Linked DNA regions of Homo sapiens: region 2 is linked to region 1. Evidence: promoter capture Hi-C in 16 types of primary human blood cells and fetal thymus (Javierre and others, 2016). All regions are on one chromosome and are shown on one strand. The core of a region is centred on a gene start or on the middle of the fragment in contact, and the rest is flanking DNA. Distances in the headings are between cores, read along the strand shown.

Region 1 (6,418 bases), core at 1,451-3,950:
CTTGGGAGGCTGAGGCAGGATGATCACTTGAACCCGGGAGGCAGAGGTTGCAGTAAGCTGAGATTGTGCCATTGCACTCCAGCCTGGGCAACAGAGTGAGACCCCGTCTCAAAAAAAAAAATGCCATTGGCTGTCATGAGAACTCCCTTACCATCATGAGAACAGCATAGGGAAAACCACCTCCATGATCCAATCACCTCTCATCAGGTCCTTCCCTTGACATGTGGGGATTACAATTTGGGTGGGGACATAGAGCCAAACCATATCAATGAGGTAACAATGAAAGTGCATTGCATAACAGTCCCTGGCACATTGTAGAGGTTTATAAATGTTAATTTTCTCCACTCCTTAGGCTTTAAACACTTTAGAAGTCATATTACAATTCATTTTTTAATTACCCTGAGTGTCAAAAACACTACCTTTGTAACTTGTTCAAAAATATGTAATCGCTCAAAAATATTGTTGTTAACCTATCCACTGGAAATATGAGGGGGTTGACAGTAAGGGGAGGGAGCAGGGAGGGATGAGCCCAGAACCTGCGGGGGAAGTGGGGATGGGCTGGGAAGAAACAAGGGGGTCTGGGAAGAAACAAGAGAGGCAAGGAGCACAGGGAAATGGTGCTGCCTACGCCCAAGATCCCCGGAGGAGCTTGGAGGGTCTCTTTGGCATCTCCCTCCCTCAGGCCTTCTTACCTCCACTGGGTGCACACTTACTATTGCTTACTTTTTAATTCTGGCTGCGGCTGAGCAAGACACCAGTGTCCTGGGACACCAACCGCCTTCTGGGTGGCAATAATGACAGCAGCAGCTATTTCAACTGCAGCTGCTAACGGTATTTCCATATACTTAATCCCACAGGGCAGAAGTTGGCAGTAGTGTCCAGCAGCAGAAAAAAATGCTAACTGGGAATGCTGGGCTTAAGGAGTTTAGTACAGAAATGGCAAATACCCCACAATTTCTGACCTTTGTCGTCTAATAGGATACCTATCAACTAAACCCTACCTAAAACCTAAAATGCTTGAAATCCGCCTAGAAGCTTCAGTCTGATTTTGCCCATAGGTCAAATGTTAATGAACTATTATTTTCTTCCATTTCTGCTCCTCATCTTTAATCTAAAAACCACGGAGTCATGGAATGGGAAAGGCCTAGAGCTCCACTTGCTCTAGTTCTCTTTTCAAAAACCATAGCCAGAAAGCCACGAGGAAATGCAGACTTACAAACAAAATCGATTTGTTCCAAACTGGTGTGCTCTGGGGGCCTGGCCCCTCTGGGAACCCAGGACTCAGGCTCCCATGCCAGGTGTTTTGTCACTTGGCAGCCTCCTTGGACACGTCAGAGTCAGGGAGCTGGGCTTCTCGAAAGAAGTCCACTCCATCTATGGGCAGCATGCATAGCAGGGGCAATCCGCCTTAGCAAACCGCTCAGTGTTTCCTCCTAGTCAGGGATTCTCAACAGGTTTAGGGGAGGGGTAGGATGGAGGTAGGTTTTATCAGAATCACATCATTTGCACTATAGTTTGAAAGATGTAACATAAAGCTGCTGCTTTAGTACCAGCTGCCATATTTCCTTTTCTTGGAGGTTTCTAATAAATCTAAAGGAGGGTGATCTATTAAGTTTTGCAAAATGGCCTGAGGTTCCAAGAGGTAGGAGAGCCGCTGCTGACTTCAACTTCTCCGTATAGCTGAAGATGACCTCTTGAAGCCTGCAGATCCCAAATCCGGGATCTCTCTTAATGTGGCATCACACACATCTGTGTGTACCTGTCTTTTTTTCCTCCATGGGACCAGCTCTCTCCAGATCCAATGACAAGCTTCCGATTATCTGTGGATCTTCTGATACATCTCCTTGCTTGTAATCATCATTCAGTAAATGCTTTTTAAACACAGGTACCTCCTATGCAATCAGTACAGCACTCATAAAACAGATATACTCAACAAAAAGATTGAATGAAACACACACGACAACATGGTCAGGGTTTTTCTCTAGGCAGAGACAGCGCAATTTCATCTTTTCTTTTCCAAGTCTATCCTAAATTAATATACTTAGCACTGCTTTTTAAAATAATAATAAAAGACTATTATTAAAACAAAGGCACCCCAGTTGATCATAGCCAAGGAAAAAAAACGCAGCCAGTTTTTACTTCGGCAAGGTTTAGGGGATTTATCATTTTCGCTGCCGATATTCTAACTAAAAAAAGCCAACTAAACAGCCCAGAGAACGAGGCAACTTTCTGAGGCAGGCATTCAACTTCTAAGGCTCGGCCAAGTTTAGCAAATAAGTTTCGTTTCACTGCAACACCGGAATGCCCACCGCGTGCCCCCCTCCGGGCGGGGCTCGGAAACTGGCCACTGCAGTCGTGCCCTTGGGTTGGGGACGCACCTCAGCGAAACGAATCCAGCCGCACCTCCCGGCTGGCACCCGCGCGCTTTAACTCAGGGAAAACAGACCGGAACGCGCATGCGCCGCGGCGCGCCGCACCGCCCACCAGCCCTCCAGGTCACATTCTTCGAAAACCAAGGCAAGAAAGGCGGCAACTGCGCCTGCGGGTAGAGAAGCCGGAGGGGCGGGGGCGGAGCCGGAGGAAGGGGGTGGAGGCGCGCCTGCGCGGTGATCCCGCCAGCAGGAAGCAGGCGCGCGGGGGCGGGGGCGCGCGGCGGCAGGAGGCGGGGCTCTCGGGGCCGCTGCCGCCGCCGCCGCCGCGCATTGTGCAGCAGGCGGGCCCCCGCGCGGTAGGGCCCTGGACCCGCGCGGCTCCCGGGGATGGTGAGCAAGGCGCTGCTGCGCCTCGTGTCTGCCGTCAACCGCAGGAGGATGAAGCTGCTGCTGGGCATCGCCTTGCTGGCCTACGTCGCCTGTGAGTGCGCGCCCGCTGCCAGCTGGGGAGCCCCATTCATTCCCCGGCGCCGCGGTGGGCCGGGCGGCGGTGGTTCGGGGCCCCGAGGCGGCCCTGCAGCCCCGCGTTGCTCCCCGCCCCGGGCGGGGCCGGCGCTTTCTGCTCCCACCCCTTTCCACTCTTGCAGCAAAGCGGGCCAACTTGGGCGCACACCCCCTACCGCTTAGGCCCGGGCGCGGACCCCGGGCGGAGGGGCCCCTAGCAGTCCTCGGGCGGCCCCAGGTCTCTGCCTCCTGCCCGGGCGCGGGGGACTCGGCGGCGGCGCTGTCGTCCATGTCGCGCTGGGAGCCGGCGAGGGTCCCGGTCGGGGACTCCGGAGCGTGCCGCGTGGGGATACCCTTGGGGACAGCCGAGGTCGCGCCGCGGTGTCGGTTAAGTCGGATAAAAATACTGTGGCCATTGGCAGAGCCCCCGCTCCGACTGTTTGCTCCTCAGGAAAATTACTCAGCGTTTAACTCTTGGGGAGCCAAGTGTGGGCGGCTCCCCGGCCCGCGGCCGTGCCCAGGTGTCGGGGCGCACCGGCATCCCCATTCTAGGTTTTCCCCCGGGGCTCGGCGGCCGGGCGAAGCAGGCAGGCAGCTGGGTGGCCGGGCAGGGCGTGCCTGCAGCTTCTCTGTGCGCGGGTCCAGTTTCTGTCATCGCTCACAGCATGCTGCCTGGAGACAGGGCAGGAGGGGCACTTCGCAGGCAGGTGGTCGGCCCTCTGCTTGTTAGGGAAGTCAGAAACCGTCCTTTTAAAGATCTATTCGTTGGGAATGTTTTAATTGATGCTATTAATACGTTACCAAGTAGCAAAATTGGACTAGAAATAGCTCCCAGTGTGAGCTGCGTTTGAATGCTAGCCACCCAGACACACACTGAAATGAAATCACCTGCTAACCTGTTGGCGTTACCAAGATCTGATTCCAGAGGTGAGTGGGTACTTCACTTGTCTGAAGTGACTTCAGTTGAGCTCTAGGAAGGCAAGTATGAGTAGATCCAGCCTGTGTGCTACAGCCCAGCTGTTCAGGAGGTGGAGCTGGAAAACCCCAGCAGGACTCCGGGTTGCTAGGGGAGGTTTCAGGCGTCGGATGGGTGTTAGATGTGTGTAGTTTTGCAAGGGAGGAAGAACTAGTCTAAAGTGTGTGTGTGGTCAATCTTGAGTAAGAAAGCTGAGACCCAAGAGGAAAGACCATTTAAAGTTGAATAACTATTATTATGGCAGTAATACTACCTACATTTGTTGAGTGCTTAACTGTGTGAGTCATGATTCTTAGTGCCATTGTCTCAATCATTGAGCAACCCTGGGAAATCGGTACTATAATGATTCCTATTTTAGAGGTGAGGAAGTTAAGGCCAAGAGAGATTAGGAAATTTATGGATGATCACACAGATAGTAAGAGAAGGAGGGCCAAAATTTGAACCCAGAAAGGCCTGGGAGCAGGAGCTAGAACCCAGGTCTTCGAACAGCAGTTTCAATGTTTATTTTGGGGGTATTCTATAGTCGCTGCAAGGGTTTAGAATTAATAAAGTAGGGGATTTATGGAGCCATGGGAAGTTTTTTTTTTTTTTTTGAGACGGAGTCTCGCTCTGTTCAGCCCAGGCTGGAGTGCAGGGGCGCGATCTCGGCTCACTGCACGCTCCACCTCCCGGGTTCACGCCATTCTCCTGCCTCAGCCTCCCAAGTAACTGGGACTACAGGCACCCGCCACCACGCCCGGCTAATTTTTTGTATTTTTAGTAGAGACGGGGTTTCACCATGTTAGCCAGGATGGTCTCGATCTCCTGACCTCGTGATCCGCCTGCCTCGGCCTCCCAAAGTGCTGGGATTACAGGCGTAAGCCACCGCTCCCAGCAGGAAAGTTTTTTAACCAATCATTCATCTGACCAGGAAATCTTACCAAGTCCTTACTGTTGTCCCTGAATTTGGCACTAGGAGACACCATGGGGTGCTAAAACTTAACTGGTCTGTGCTGTGATGGTACAGACCCTATACCACATAGTGTAGCACGTTGATTCTCAGACTTAAGCATGCATCAGAATCAGTAGGGTTTTTTTTAAAAAACACAGACTGCTTGTCTCCCACCTCAAGTTTCTGATTCAGTTGGTCTGGGATGTGGCCTGAGAATCTGCATCACTAATAGGTTGTTCTGTATGCTGTTGCTGTGACCTGACACCACTTTGAGACCCACTGGCCAAGATGGTGAGGTGGGCATGAATTGGAAATGAAGGTTAAATTACAAACTGGTGTGAGGAAAAGGAATGCATGAGAACTATGCCAGGAACTCCTGAGTGAGAGCAATCAGGTACGTTTGTTTTGTTGAGGAATCAAAAGTGAGCTGAGAATGGACGGCTTATGTAGGAGTTAACAGGGAAGTCATAGGAGAGAGCGTGTTCTAGGAGGAGCAGTGTGTGCAGAGGTCCTGCGGCAGCCAAGAGCAGGCAGTATTCTAGGAATGCAAAGAAGGATGGTATTGTTGGAGTGTGAAAACAAAATTACAGCCATGAGGCTGCCCAGGCAGACAGGGGCCAGAGCAGGCAAGCAGGCAGGCAGGCCTGGGGTGCAGCCCACGACATGGTTGATTTTAGCTATGAGGGGTTTAACACAGGGTGGAGGCAGTGTTAATAAGGAGCAGGTATGCTAAGTCTGAGCCACTCTGCAGGGAAAAATGTTACAGGGCTTGTGATTGATAACACCGAAGGACACTGAAAATGTAGTCCCTCAACCGTGATGTCTGTGTTTTCTAATCTCTGCTTTTCCTAATTAGTAATCTTGCCCTCCCTGTTACAAGTAAAATCTCACCACTGTTTGAAAAAACTGTCCATACTTCCCAATTATATACACCCTCACTGTTAGCCAGCCTCCGTTGCAGAAATGCCCTCCCTGTTTCGGGAACAGAACTCAAGTTCTGTTAGCCTTTCTCCTTCTCCTCCTTACATCTTTCCCAAAGTCTTTGTTACCTACTCTGGCCCTGAGTCTCCTCCTTGATACCACATAACTCTTCTTCATGTCTTAGGGTTGACCACCTGCTAACTTGCATTGTACTTGAGTTCTTTCCCATTCATATGTTGGCTTTTTTTTCTCAATGAAATCCCGATTCTGAGGACAGGGATTGTGTCTTATGTGTTTCAGCCCTTGAAACATTTATAGCAGTGCTAATGGCTCATTGAAAGAACTCAGTTTCTGCCCTTTGTGCTGAATCAAAAATCAGGCCAACCTACTAGGTAGCTCCTGGGCAGACTGCTTGAATTACCTTTAACGTATTTTTTTTTAACATGCATATAGTGTAAAAAGTTAAATAGCTTCTGCAGGGCCAAACAGTATCCCCTGCCACCATTTCCCTCTCCCCAGAAGCAGGCACTTCATTTCTTTTTTTTTTTTTTTTGATACAGAGTTTCGCTTTTGTTGCCCAGGCTGGAGTGCAGTGGCGTGATTTCGGCTCACTGCAACCTTGGCCTCTTGGGTTCAAGCGATTCTCCTGCCTCAGCCTCCTGAGTAGCTGGGATTACAGGCATGCGCCACCACGCCCGGCTAATTTTGTATTTT
Region 2 (6,418 bases), core at 1,649-4,148, 2.4 Mb before region 1:
GCAGGCTCCGCCTCCCGGGTTCACACCATTCTCCTGCCTCAGCCTCCCGAGTAGCTGGGACTACAGGTGCCTATCAACACGCCCGGCTAATTTTTTGTGTTTTTAGTAGAGACGGGGTTTCACCATCTTAGCCAGGATGGTGTTGATCTCCTGACTTCATGATCCACCCGCCTCGGCCTCTCCAAGTGCTGGGATTACAGGCGTGAGCCACCGTGCCCAGCCTGTGCTTAGTTTTCTTGAGACAGAGTCTCACTCTGTTGCCAGGCTGGAGTGCAGTGGTGCAATTTTGACTCACCGCAACCTCGATCTCCTGGGTTCAAGTGATTCTCGTGCCTCAGCCTCCTGAGTAGCTGGAATTACAGGCATGTGCTACCACACCAGGCTAATTTTTGTATTTTTAGTGGTAGAGACGGGGTTTCACCATGTTGGACAGGCTGGTCTCGAACTCCTGACCTCAGGTGATCCGCTCGCCCTGGCCTCCCAAAGTGCTGGGGTTACAGGCGTGAACCACCACGCCCAGCCTCTGTTGAATCTTTATACCCCTCATGGCACCAAGCACACTGTCATCATGCAATTAATCAAACTGGACATCTTGAGAGAAGTCCCTAGACTGCCTGCAGAGGGCATCTAAAGAGGGCAAGCCCTGGTGAGCTGCGTCCCTACCCAGACACCCAGACAGCTCAGTCTAGCTCGTTGCCTTTGGCGTAACTTTCCTCAAGAAAGACAGCTCGATCAATCAGAATCACTATAGTTTGAAATCTATAAGCCACCTCACAATTTTTTTTTCTCCCATGGTCCCTCAAATAAGCAGTGTTTAGTCAATTTAAAAACATTCTTGGGCTGGGCATGGTGCCTCATGCCTGTAATCCCAGCACTTTGGGAGGCTGAGGCAGGAGGATCACTTGAGCTCAGGAGCTGGAGACCAGCCTGGGCAACGTGGTGACACACCATCTCTATAGAAAAATTAGCCGGGCACGGTGGCATGCACCTGTAGGCGCTACTAAGGAGGCTGAGGTAGGAGGATCGCTTGAGCCTGTGAGCTATGACTGAGCTGTGATCATGCCACTGCATTCCGGCCTGGGAGACACAGCGAGATACTGTCTCAAAAAAAAAAAAAAAATCTTAAAATTTTCTCTCATAGGTTAGGTGATTTTTCTCTGACCATTTAGAAACTTTAACTAGAAAATGTCTCTGTACTAGTTCCTTTATATTTCAAATCACTTATCTTTTCATTCTTTTATTTTTATTCGTATTGTGATCCATTAACATACATTCTCACACCTAAACAGCTTTTTAAAAAGATAACATTGTGTTCTGGTCAAAACAGACAAATTAGAGGAAGCTGTGTTTCCAATACAGAATGGCAGTATTTTTAGCTAGGAATGCTGACTTAGGAGAACGCCCAGATCACCAGTGACAGCCTCCAGTGTGTCAGGAGCTCTTGACACGGCTGTAGTGGCTGTAGCACCAGAGTATCTGGCTCTAAATAACACCCTTATTTTAGTTCTGACTCAGTCAAGGCTATCTCCCTGGACATTAACCTTCAGCTACACTGGGAGGGAAGTCCGTGGGAGTTTTTATTTTGTGACTAAGCTTAACACGGGGTTTACTTCCCTCAATGATAAGGTAAAAGAAAACCATGAGAATTTCAGAATAGAACAGAATAAAAAACATTTCACTTGAGTCAAGTGAAAACAATGAACCTTTTCAAATTCAAATGTACATATCTTTCACTGCCCGTTATTTTCTTTTTGACACAGAACATGTTTTGTGTAGATTTTACTGCATTAAACAGCATTTGAAAATACTGACCAGGATGAAGCAGAGGAACTAAAATACACACACACACACACACACACACACACACACACACACACACACACATATATGTATATTTTGCTGAATTTAAAAAGGTTTCTTTTCTTTCATTAACTTTAAATTTTGTGAAATGTACACAGAAAGGCAAGGGATTATTTCAGCTACCATAACTTAGATTTTGCCATAAGTACAATGAAAAAAGATGTGGAAATAGTATAAGGTCAGGAGGTCAACCACTGTAAGCTGGTGCTCATGTAACACTGCCCAGCTACAACCAGGCTAGCAGCATCTCCCAGGGGCCTCAGTCACTCCTCTTGTTCTGCAGGCTCCTGTGCTCAACCTTCCTCTCTCCCCACACAGAGCTCTCCATTCTCTGTCACGGAATGAAGCTATGGTTTTTGAAAGCAGTTCACAGGGCTAAGTAGGAAGCTCTTTATTCCATTCCTTACCTCTTCTCAAAAAGTGGTATTCTATACATCTAGCAATAATATATAAAAATATGGCAATTACCCACTTAGACAGACCCCCTTGTGTCCTGTAGGAGGCATCACTGGGATATTGCTAGGTGCTGGTGATGCAGTTACTGCTACCTCTGTGAATCTTTGTCCTCTATGAGCAGCACTGAGACCTTGTCAGTAGAGGGTGCTGGAGAGACACTGCAGGAGGAAGAGGTTTGCTTCCCAGTCCTGCCTGCTCCCTGGGCAAAGCTCCTGCAGCACTCTGGCTTCTTCGGTGTCTAGCTCCTGCAGGGCATGGTGGCTAGCACCAGCTTCAGTGGCACTGGCCCCTCAAAAGTTTTACAGCAGAGTGCCTTGGACCCTGATGGTGCATGCAGCCAGCAGCACCCATCCCTTGGCAGTCAGCTATGTAGGGGGTACCTTGGGTGAGGGAACTCACTGGGAACAGCCTTCTCTGGTATTGGAAAGGAGGATTTCCAGCAATCTGTGCCAGCGACTTTTCTGCATGCAGCATGCCCTGGTAGTGTGACCCCGGGCACGGAGTAGGGCTCCTCCCTTGGCACTCTAACTCAGCTCTAGGGTCCGTGGCTGCTCCTTACAGCGGCTATTCCTATACTCTTTTGCTTTCTCTCCTCTTACTAGCCAATTCCTTATTACTCCAAAACCTTGTTAGAGTTAGTAATTCTATCTTTATATTAAACCTTTCCTGTTCAAATTAGCGTGTGGGTTTTCTCTCCTGGTTGGACCCAGGCCGACAGAGGCAGCCTATGTGAGGACTCTGCAGCTGATGGTACTTAGACCTTTTGGGCTCTTTCTCCAAGATGTCACTTAGGAATTTAAACAATTGTATTTACATTCAAAACTAGGAACAGACGATTTAAACAACTGTATTTACATTCAAAACTAGGAACAGACGGGGGGGAGGAGTGTGTTATCACGTAAAGGTACAGAATAATAAACCTGTCAGTTAAACGGGAGTCCAAGTCTGTCTACCTCATTCTTTTTTTTGAGATGGAGTCTTGCTCTGTCACCCAGGCTGGAGTGTAGTGGTGCGGTCTCAGTTCACCGAAACCTCCCCCTCCTGGGTTCAAGCAATTCTCTGCCTCAGCCTCCCAAGTAGCTGGGATTACAGGCACCCACCACCACGCCTGACTAATTTTTGTATTTTTAGTAGAGACGGGGTTTCACCATCTTGACCAGGCTGGTCTTGAATTCCACCCGCCTTGGCCTCCTGAAGTGCTGGGATTACAACCATTCTTTTTTTTTTTTTTTTTTTTTAGAGATGAAGTCTTGCTCTTTCCCCCCAGGCTGGAGTGTGATGGTGCAATCTCAGCTCACTGCCACTTCTGCCTTCCGAGTTCAAGCGATTCTCCTGCTTTGGCCCCCTGAGTAGCTGGGATTACAGGCACCTGCCACCACACCCAGCTAATTTTTGTATTTTTAGAGATGGGGTTTCACCATGTTGGCTAGGCTGGTCTCGAACTCCTGACCTCAGGTGATCCACCCGCCTGGGCCTCCCAAAGTGCTGGGGTTACAGGCGTGAGTCACCGCGCCCAGCCACAGCCATTCTTTATTTATGTAAACTAGAGGCCACACATGGACTCATTGTTCAAGTCAGGGCCAGAAGATATGGCCACCCCACACCCCAGTGTAGACCCCCATCCTCATGGCACTTTCTGGCCCCAGTGACATGTCTGGGGGCCACTCAATGTGAGCTCCTGGGTTCCTCTGTGACCCCAGCAAAGAGGCAAACAGGGACACACACCCATTGGTCAGTCCTCAAGAACAAGAGGAGAATAAAGGAACTGAGGCGATCAGTGAACTTTTGTTCTTCTTGAAGATGACTGGGAGGGTGGCTAGGACAGCAGCTCCTTGGGCAGTCGCTGTGCTCTGCTGCGCCTGGCCGTGAGGGCTTCTGTGAAGCTTTACTGTGAGTGCTCCACATGCTTTCCTGTCATGGTCATTCCTGAGCCTCCCTTCCTGTCACATCACTCCCACAATAGAATGAAGCAGCCGCCTGTTTTCTAAATAGTCCCTCGATTTCAGGACATTTGTGGTGAAAAGGACCATGTGTACCACTTAACACTGATGTGTGTGGCGTCTCTCCAGAGATGTCGCCAGGACAAGGTGTCACATTCAGAAGGCACAGCTTCAGGAGCCTGAAAGCCAGCCTTGGGAGGGCTGAAAGATTTGCCTCTTGCTAGTGGTAGGGGCAATGTTCTGTATGAGCTTCTTTGTTTTCTGAGGGGATTGAGAAAAACCTAAAATGTAATGCAGTAACAGTCTGGACAATTTCTGTTACAAAATGAGCTTTTAGGAGATGACATATTACCTCATTATTTCTTCTCTTTCCTCATTATCTACCTCTCTCCCATTCCCCATTGGTATAGACATTAAATTGAACAGCTGGCATGCTGAATTAACATGAGAGTCACTGAAAACTGAGTGCTGCATGAGAGCTGGCAGCTGGCACACCAGAGAGCCCTGCAGTCCTTCTTCCCTCCCCCTACAGACATCCTGCTAGAAGGAGACCCCAACCTGACACAGGTCAGTTATTGCATGGACTTCCTTGAGCTTTGCCCAGCCTGCTTCCTCCCTCTCTACCCTTGTAAGAGTCTTTGAGGACAATCCTCCCTCCTCTTTCCTTTGGAGCCACAAAGAGGCTACAGCCAGCATCCAGTCCCCATCTCAAACACAAACCTCCAAGAAATACTACTTCTAAAGAACGGTGGTGTGCAAGACAGAATCACAAGAAAAGCTTGGTGGGAGAAACACCACGATGGAGCTCAGGGAGATTATTTCAGGAAATTTTGCAATTGAGGCACAAGGATGGACACACACACACACCTGTGTGTAAATTTCTTATCATTTAATTACTTAAATAATATAAAATAAAACTTAATTTTCCTGATTTTAGGGCAACAAAACTCCCTGCTCTAATCCTTTTATAAACAGCACTGTCGCCAGGGATTTCAGTTCAGAATGGCAAACATGCACTTGTATGACTCTGGGCCAACCAAGTCTTTTAAGTCAAACCTTTAACCAACTATTAGTAAAGCATAAGACAGAACAATCTCTTTTATGGCAGCTCATAAATGAAAAAGCAAAAATGTAATCAAAACTAACTTGGCAAGAGGCCAAATTCATAGGCTGAGAAAACAGAACAAAATAACTGAGCTTCAAAGAGTTTAGAACCTATTAGGAAAGCAAATCAAATGGTGAAATTGAGAGTGGTTCAAATAAACTAATAAATATGGTGACTATTTGGACTATGTTCAGACTGAATATAAGAGGTCTGACGCTCTAATGACAGCGCCTATGCTGGTTGTATAAAAAGTCAATAATTTAAGCCTATTTAAAAGCAGCAGTCATTTTTACTCTTCTATGGATGGCAATATTCTAACCTATTACAGACAAAGCACCACATGACTATTTCAAGAGACAGTTTTATCCTTTGAAATAAAACTGCTCTGAAACACAAAAAATAATTCTGTGTTAAAAGAATACATAAAAATAACCTCACCAAATCAATTAGTAAGAATTAAGATGCTGGCAAAAACAAAGGGACAGAAGAGCAGGAATAATTCAAAAGGCAAAACCAAATCTTCCACTGCCGTCATGATGAACATTAAATGTTCTATTTCAGAGCAGAGCAGGGGATACACGGATGCTTCCTGGAGTGGAGGGGGAAGGGGACAAGGGAGTCACCTGGTACACTTTATTAACCTGAGCACAAACATAATCAGAAGAACAATATCATAATGGCTCATAAGGCAATGTCAGTGCTTTCTCATTCAGAAATCAATGTGTACACTTGCTATGCAGGTACAGATTGCCTGTAAGTAAACTGCTTATATAAACAGACTTTTCAAGGTCAATTTACCTTCCTTTTGGTTTAATATTTTCATCTACATTTAAGTAGCCTGAGCCAGTATTCCAGTTCTCTGAGGCCACAATCCCAGGCACTCATGTACAGCTCTGTAGAAGTTGCTGAAGTGCCACTACTCACATGTTGATTCTATAGCAGTATCTGCATTCCCTCTTACATTTTCAAAGCTGAGGAGGCAGAGAGGCTTCTCTTTGGCTCGCTTACCATTCATTTGGCCCCAAATACCATTTTGTGCAATAAGATCTAGCACTGC

Evidence for each region. Contacts are between HindIII fragments. The CHiCAGO score rates a contact against its expected background, and 5 or more counts as called.
Region 2: a contact is called between a fragment that was not itself captured here and the fragment with the promoter of UXS1 in region 1, in 1 of 17 cell types (M2 macrophages). The highest score is 5.7, in M2 macrophages.

The regions. Positions count from the first base shown.
Region 1 is chr2:106,190,583-106,197,000 of GRCh38, reverse strand. UXS1 (UDP-glucuronate decarboxylase 1) reads left to right here and starts at 2,700. Exons shown (of 15, transcript NM_001253875.2): 1 at 2,700-2,853. The coding sequence starts at 2,760. RefSeq lists a silencer at 2,618-3,227 and an enhancer at 3,558-3,607. The HindIII fragment of the contact is 11,333 bases long and covers 1,812-6,418 here.
Region 2 is chr2:108,632,566-108,638,983 of GRCh38, reverse strand. All of the region lies in intron 1 of LIMS1 (LIM zinc finger domain containing 1), which reads right to left. Among named protein-coding and RNA genes, the nearest start is that of LIMS1-AS1, 43 kb to the left of the region's middle. RefSeq lists an enhancer at 2,129-2,703. The HindIII fragment of the contact is 2,606 bases long and covers 1,596-4,201 here.